Linked DNA regions of Homo sapiens: region 2 is linked to region 1. The links are contacts of gene promoters, found by promoter capture Hi-C in blood cells and fetal thymus (Javierre and others, 2016). All regions are on one chromosome and are shown on one strand. Each heading gives the region's core, a stretch centred on a gene start or on the middle of the fragment in contact. The rest is flanking DNA. Distances are from core to core; before and after follow the strand shown.

Evidence for each region. The method cuts DNA at HindIII sites, captures the fragments that hold promoters and counts their contacts. A CHiCAGO score of 5 or more calls a contact.
Region 2: a fragment that was not itself captured here is called in contact with the fragment with the promoter of RPS19BP1 in region 1 in 1 of 17 cell types (activated CD4 T cells); the score reaches 7.0 in activated CD4 T cells.

What each region holds. Positions count from the first base shown.
Region 1 is chr22:39,530,974-39,534,495 of GRCh38, forward strand. It overlaps RPS19BP1 (ribosomal protein S19 binding protein 1), which reads right to left and starts at 1,775. Exons shown (of 4, transcript NM_194326.4): 1 at 1,714-1,775; 2 at 1,422-1,550. The coding sequence starts at 1,765. RefSeq lists enhancers at 989-1,504, 1,505-2,020, 1,810-1,869, 1,920-1,969 and silencers at 1,230-1,359, 1,540-1,699. The HindIII fragment of the contact is 8,920 bases long and covers 1-2,723 here.
Region 2 is chr22:40,053,478-40,056,999 of GRCh38, forward strand. It overlaps a transcript of TNRC6B not described here. Among named protein-coding and RNA genes, the nearest start is that of TNRC6B-DT, 11 kb to the left of the region's middle. The HindIII fragment of the contact is 970 bases long and covers 1,284-2,253 here.

The sequences.
Region 1 (3,522 bases), core at 525-3,024:
GAAGGCAGGAGACCGGCTAGGCTTCTGCAATAATTCAGGCAAGAGACGATGCAGCTTGGAGCAAAGTGGCAGCTGCAGAGGTGTTCTTTCCATTGGCTGCGAGGCTTGCCATTCCTCTCACTCAGCATCTATGTGCCAAAACCTGTGGTGGACACCAAGGCTGCGGACAAGCCCAAGGAGGTGTGTGCCTTTAGGAGCTTCCATCCAACAGGGGAGGTGGGTGAGCACCCAGGACACGACAGTGAGACAAGGGCTGGGACAGATGGGAATGACCTCTGGCACTCCACACTCCTGCTTCATGGCAAGTATCGCTGGGGCTCAAACCTGTCTCACTTTCCTGCCTCCAGACTTTGGCTTAAGTTGTATTTCCTCCTTGGAATTCATAATTCTTTTAACAAATACTTTAACATCTTTTATGCATTAGACTCTAGGGATTCAGACACAGTAAGAGCTTGCCACGTCCTGACACATGTCAAAATATCACCATCTTGCCTACACCAGCCCCTCCGAAAGTCTTTATGTCTATTAAGTGACACTACGTCCCCCAAGAAACTAGGCTCCACCTTCACAGCCAATTCACCACTAAAACCCCTCTAAAGGCTGAAATTCTCTGCTGCCCCCTCTTTAACATATTTTCCACCTGCACAATTCTCTTGTTATCTCTGCTGCTATAGCCACTGCCCAGGCCACAGCATGTCCTATTTCAATGGAGTAGGTAATAGCAGCACTCTGGAGACACAATGCCCGGGCAGCCACAATGCCTGTACCACCTGGGCAGGTGCCTTTTTCTGAATCTGTAAAACGGGGGTGATAGTAGTATCGACCTCAAAGGGCTGCTGTAAGGATCAAACGAGCTTACATTTGTACAGCACTTAGAATCAGCACCTGGTACAGAGTGTTAGTGAATGTGTTTAAATGCTCCATCTTTGATCCTCATTCACTAGGTCACCTTTACCAGCCTTTATTTTTTCAAATTCTCAAAGGCAACAACCTCCTTTCTGACTCAGGACCTTTGCACATACTATTCTTCCTAGAATATTCTCCTACTTTTCACCTAGCTCACTCTTATACATCCTTCAGCTCTCGGCTGAAATGTCGCTTCCTCAGAGAAGGCTGACTTGGCCTAAGTCCCCATCAGAGTACCGTAGTCTTTTAATTCATAGGCTTCAATGCACTTAGCAATGACACACTGGGTTTGATATTCTTTGATGCTTCTCTCCCCACTAGGGCCGTAGTCCACGAGGACCAGGACGGTGGCGTGTTCTGTCACCTTCGTATGTCCAGGGCCCCGCTCCGCGCCTGGCACACAGTAGGTCTAGCAATACCGGGCGAACGCTTCAAGCCCTGCCTCAAGCGCCACCTCCTCTGGGGCGCAGGTCCCAGCACCGGAGGCAGCACTTTCAGCCCCTTCCCGAACTTACCCAGTGCCGACTTGGGCACCTTTCCCTTGGCCGAGTTCCGCAGTTTCTGGGCCTGAATTGCCTTCGTCTTCCGGGGCCGTTTCACCGGAGCCCCTCTCGGCTTGGCCTGACCTGGAGGGTCCCGGGGGGCTGTAGGGGAAGAGAGAGGAAGAGACCCAGGTCAGAGGGCGCGCAGCGTTCCCATGCCACTGGGGCTAAGCCCGGCCTGGATTGTTTTCCATCCAGGGCTCCCGCCCGCAGCCACTACCATCCTCCTGCCCGCGCCGGACGTCCCCTGGCCAGCCCTCCTCACCCTCGGACGCCGCCAGCAGCTCCAGGCCCCGCCGCAGCAGGGCGGCGGACATGGCGGCGCTTGGCTCCGCCCACGAGCCTCACACTACTTCCGACCTGGCAGTCCCTGTCGTCTCGGCGGAAACCCGAGCCCGAACAGAGGGATCCGGAGGGGGATGGGCGGAAGTGCCCATCTTTCTTAGGACGCATGCGTTAGGGGTTTACACTTGAGCGGAAGAAGGGGCGGAAACTGGAGGCGGGTCCAAGGCGCAGAAAGACACATGTGTTACTCAATCCCAATCTACCTGGCTCCTGGCGCTCAGTCCCCTCCTTCCCCGGAAGCCGTCCGCAACCTGCTCCGCCGGGTTGGCCAATCCTCTCGGGTCTCGTGGCTCCGTGGCGGGCTAGGATGGGGACAGGGCGGAGTGTTTTTCATATACTTCAACCAGCACTAGGTATCGCACAGGTTGAGTGCAGCATGAGAATCCAGTTGTCTTCCCTTAAGCCAGACATTAAAGACATATCTTTGTTTTGAAAACTACAATTATTTCTCATAAAATACGTTGTTTATGTTACCAAGCAATGGGTTTATTGTCATTTTAAGTGAATTAATGAATATGTAAAATTTTTGTTTTAGTTTCTAGTATGGCAAATATCAGTTGCCTACATACAAAAGTTCTTTGGGATCCTGAATTTTTTAAAATTTATTTTATTTAATTAAATTAATTTTTTTTTTGAGACGGAATCTCGCTCTGTCGCCCAGGCTGGAGTGCAGCGATCTCGGCTCACTGCAACTTCCGCCTCCCGGGTTCAAGCGATTCTTTTGCCTTAGCCTCCCGAGTAACTGAGATTACAGACGCCCGCCACCACGGCCGGCTAATTTTCTTTTTAAAAAATTTTTAGTAGAGACGGGGTTTTGCCATGTTGGCCAGGCTGGTCTTGAACTCCGGACCTCAAGTGATCCGCCCACCTCAGCCTCCCAAAGTGCTGGGATTACAGGAGTGAGGGGATTCTGAAGTTTTAAATGTAAGAAGCTTCTTAGACCAAAACATTTGAGCCCCTCTGGCCTAGAAGTGACACTGCTTACCTGGGGGAGGAGCCCTGGGCTTGTTCGCTGCTCCATCTGCAGCTGGCAGCCCAGCACCTGGCATGGAGAAGACACGCAATAAGTGAACGGTGAATCAGAAGGGACCACTGGGTTCACTCAGCCGGGTTCTGAGGGCCTTCTGTGTACTTGACACCACAGAGTGTGGGACCTGGAGTTCGTCCTCCGGGATAGACCACACCGTTTAAGCTCCATCGGCTAGAGAGTAATAATAACAACCAACACAAACTCAAGCATTTGTGCTGTTCTACGTGCTTTACATTTGTTAACTTGTTTATCCCCCCTACCCTTCCAGGTAGGAATTGTCTTTTGCATTTTACAGACGAGGAAACAAACACAGAGAGGCGAAGGTCACACGGGTGGAGTCAGGGGTGGGAGTTAAGACTGGCAGCCTGGCCGCAGGATTTGTGGGGGCGCTCCTGTCCCAGCCACCAGGGAGAGCAGTGCTGTGGTGCTGGGTGGGGCCTGTCAAGCCATGGGGTCAGGTAGGCCCCTGGAGGGTGAGGAGGAGCTGACCATGTATGGGCAGCGGGGATTGTTCTAGGCGGAGACCGCTGTAGCGAGGACCTATCCCCTGTGACACACGAGTGGCCCTTCAGGATGCCATGCTGGGCTGGAGGGTCGCAAAGGCCTCAGACTCCATGATTTTGTCCTAAGGGGAGTGTGGGGCCTGGAACCCAGTGACTGTTCAGACATATGCCTCCTTCCTGCTTCTAACATAGCCGG
Region 2 (3,522 bases), core at 519-3,018, 520 kb after region 1:
GGAAAAAAAAATACCCCTTTAACACACAGGTGAAATGGTTAATTCTTCCTAGGAAGATTGAATTTCTCTCTGTTCTCTTAGACTTTACTCATTTCTGACATAGACTACATTATATCATGTTTCTTAATCTGTCTCTCCTGCTGGATTGCAAATTTCTTAAGTGAGACTATTGTAGTCATCTTTGCATCCCTAGGCACATACTGTACTGTGTCTGTCATATCGTAGACACTCAAATGTTTGTTAAATAAATAACTTGAAGTAAGTTACTTAGCTTTGCAGAGTCTTAGTTTTTTCTTTTGCAAGTAGGAACTTCTCTACTTCAGAGAATTGTTGAAACTGTAGTGAGAATAATCTTTTAAAACTACAGATGTGTTCTGTGTATATCTTAATTTAAAACATTTACTTAAAAAGCAAGTGTAAATCTGATCATATTTCTCCCCTACTTAAAACTGTTAATAACTGGGTGCACAGGCTCGTGCCTGTAATCCCAGCACTTTGGGAAGCTGAGGTGGGTGAATATCTTGAGCTCAGGAGGTCAAGACCAGCCTGGGCAACATAGCAAAACCCTGTCTCTGCAAAAAATACAAAAATTAGCTGGGCGTGGTGGTGCCTGCCTGTAGTCCCAGCTACTCAGGAGGCTGAGGTGGGAGGCTAGCTTGAGCCTGGAGGCAGAGGTTGCAGTCAGCCGAGATTGCGCCACCACACTCCAGTGTGGGTGACAGAGTGAGACCCTGTCTCAAAAACAAAACTGTCAGTGAGGCCTAAAGACCCTGATAAGAACCTGAATTCTTGTTCTTGCCTTTTTCACTGACTGCCCAGTGAAGCTTCTGCCAGCGTCCCCTGCCTCTTTTCCTACTGTCTTCCCCCTTGCTGAGTGTACTCTCACCATACTGACCCTCTTCAAGTTCCGGAAATGTGTGTTCTTCACTACCCAAGGTCCCTTCCTTGAGCATACTATTCTCACAGCTGGAAGCCCGCAGGCCCAACCTTAGTTAATGCCTCTTCAATCCTGAGCTCAGTGTGTGTGTCTCCTCTTTAATGACTTCCTAATCACCCCGCCCCACATTAGAAGATATCAATTGTATAATTATTTAATTTGTATATTATATTTCCCCTTCTGGAAAATAGCTACATGAATAAAAATACTCTGTTTTATTCACATTTGTGTCACCAACATCTAGCACTGTGAGTTGCACATAGTAGGTCCTCAATAAATATTTTTTCAAATGAAGTTAAGAAAGAGAATTTAAAATAGAATTTCTAAAAAACCTCATTTTAGGCAAAGCTTGGTGGCTCATGCATGTAATGCCAGCACTTTGGGAGGCCAAGGCAGGCAGGTCACTTGAGTCCAGGAGTTCGAGACCAGCCTGGGTGACATGGTGAAACCCATCTCTACAAAAAAAAAAAAAATTAGCTGGTTGTAGTAGTGCGCGCCAGTAGTCCCAGCTACTCGGGAGGCTGATACAGGAAGGTTGCTTGAGCCCGGGAGGCAGAGGTTGCAGTGAGCTGAGATTGCACCATTAAGCTCCAGCCTGGGTGACAGAACAAGACTCCGTCTCCAAAAAAAGAAAAGAAATTATGCTTGGGCTTGACATGATGACGCTCTCACTAAACATTTGAATGCATAGACATGCTGAATGCTGTGCTAGGAGCCAGGACTACAGAGGTGGGGCGAAAGGAGATCTTTGTTCCCAAGGAATGCACAGCCAGGTGGGTGAGACAGATGTGGACACAGATGAGTGCCATTTAGTGTAATAAGTGCTGTAATAGACAGTACAAGAGGTGCTGCGGGGATGAAAAGGAAGGTCATCAACACGATGGGGAGGTTGAGAAAGCCTTCCCAGGGAAGGTGACACTCACACTAAGTTGTGGAGGAAAAGGGCATTTCCGGCAGAGAGAACAGCCTGTGTAGAGGCATGGGGGAGCGTTTTTAGTATGTGGAGAAGATGACCGGCACAGCGGTATGCTTTACAAGGCTGGCATTAGGGTACAGGGCTAATAGCTGACTTACAGTTGAACCATGATATGTCAGACTCAGCCTCTTACTCCACTGCAGTTTAGGACAGGAAATGACCTTAGAATAATGATCTGAATCTGTATGTTTGAATTCATAAAGGCATAGAGTACCATTCAGAGAAGATAATCATAAACCACAACGGCACTTGTCACTTCTAGTTAATATACTTGCTTCAGTGGTGTACCTATAACCATGCAAATGATGTTAGGTGGAATTAGAAAGTGGTGACTCATTTAAGCTTATCTGTAGGAGCAGAGAGTGTAAAGGAAGTGACTTCTAGATCACCTGAGGTGAGTGCTGATACCATCTCAAATGGATCAGACACTGAACCAGTGAAAGAGAGGAAATCAGAAAAGAGGACTACCCAGAAGGGCCTCTGGTATATGTTCTGGGAAAGACAGTTCCTACAGCTTGAAGGTCTTTACATATCTCCAAGTCTCCAAGTGGTTCACTGAGCTAACATTAATCTAATTTAATTCTCAACCAGATTTGAAAAAGGGAGATTAATTGGATAAAAATGTAGCCCATTTTCCTTCATTTACTCCTATTTGTTTTCAATGTCTCTTTCCTTTTCTGTCTCCTCCTATCCATTTTTCTCTCCCTGTTACTCTTAAGTAGTGTCTCCTTTCCCCATCCACCCCATCTCTAGCCATCTTCCATTCTATTTCCGCTAAGTTGCTTTCAGTTGCAGGATGTCCATACCTTGTTGGCTAAACTAATGTTTCTCAGCTTTGCATATTCAGAGCTTGATATTTTTCAAATGGGAAGAAGTGATTATGCTCTGGTAGTGCTGATTACACTCACAAGATGTTAATTGACTTACGGTAATGCCGATTTCTGCAAGTTCTGTGTATGTATTTGATCTACATAACAAAGGGCTAAGGAGCTAAGTGATGATAGGGAGAATGGTAGTAATGAATGCAGTTTAGTTTAAGATGTTTGGAAGAGAAAGGACAGAGAAAAATGGAAGCAGGACGAGGTTGAGAAGGCAACACCTTTAAGTAAGATAGAAAATCAGGCTGGGTGCAGTGGCTCATGCCTGTAATCCCAGCACTTTGGGAAGCCAGAGTAAGAGGATCACTTGAGGCCAGGAGTTCGAGACCAGCTTGAGCAACATAGTGAGACCCCCATCTCTACAAAAAATGTTTTAAACATCAACTGAGCATGATGGCACATGCCTGTAGTCCTAGCTACTCAAAAGGCTGAGGCAGGAGGATTGCATGAGCCCAGGAGTTGGAGGCTGCGGTGAGCTAGGATTGCATCACTACACTCCAGCCTGAGAGACAGAGTGACACCCTGTCTCAAAAAAAAAAAAAAAAAGAAAGAAAAATCTATAATCTATTAAAAGATATACAGGAAGCACCCAGCGGAGAAAGAAAAATGGAAGTTGCTTGAATAGAGATGGTAGCAGATTTGATGGGGCAAGGCCACCAGATTCCTCCCATGGGCACAGGTAGACTATATTCATTGGAAGTTCCTTGTAGTATCTCAACAGAGTAAGAAGT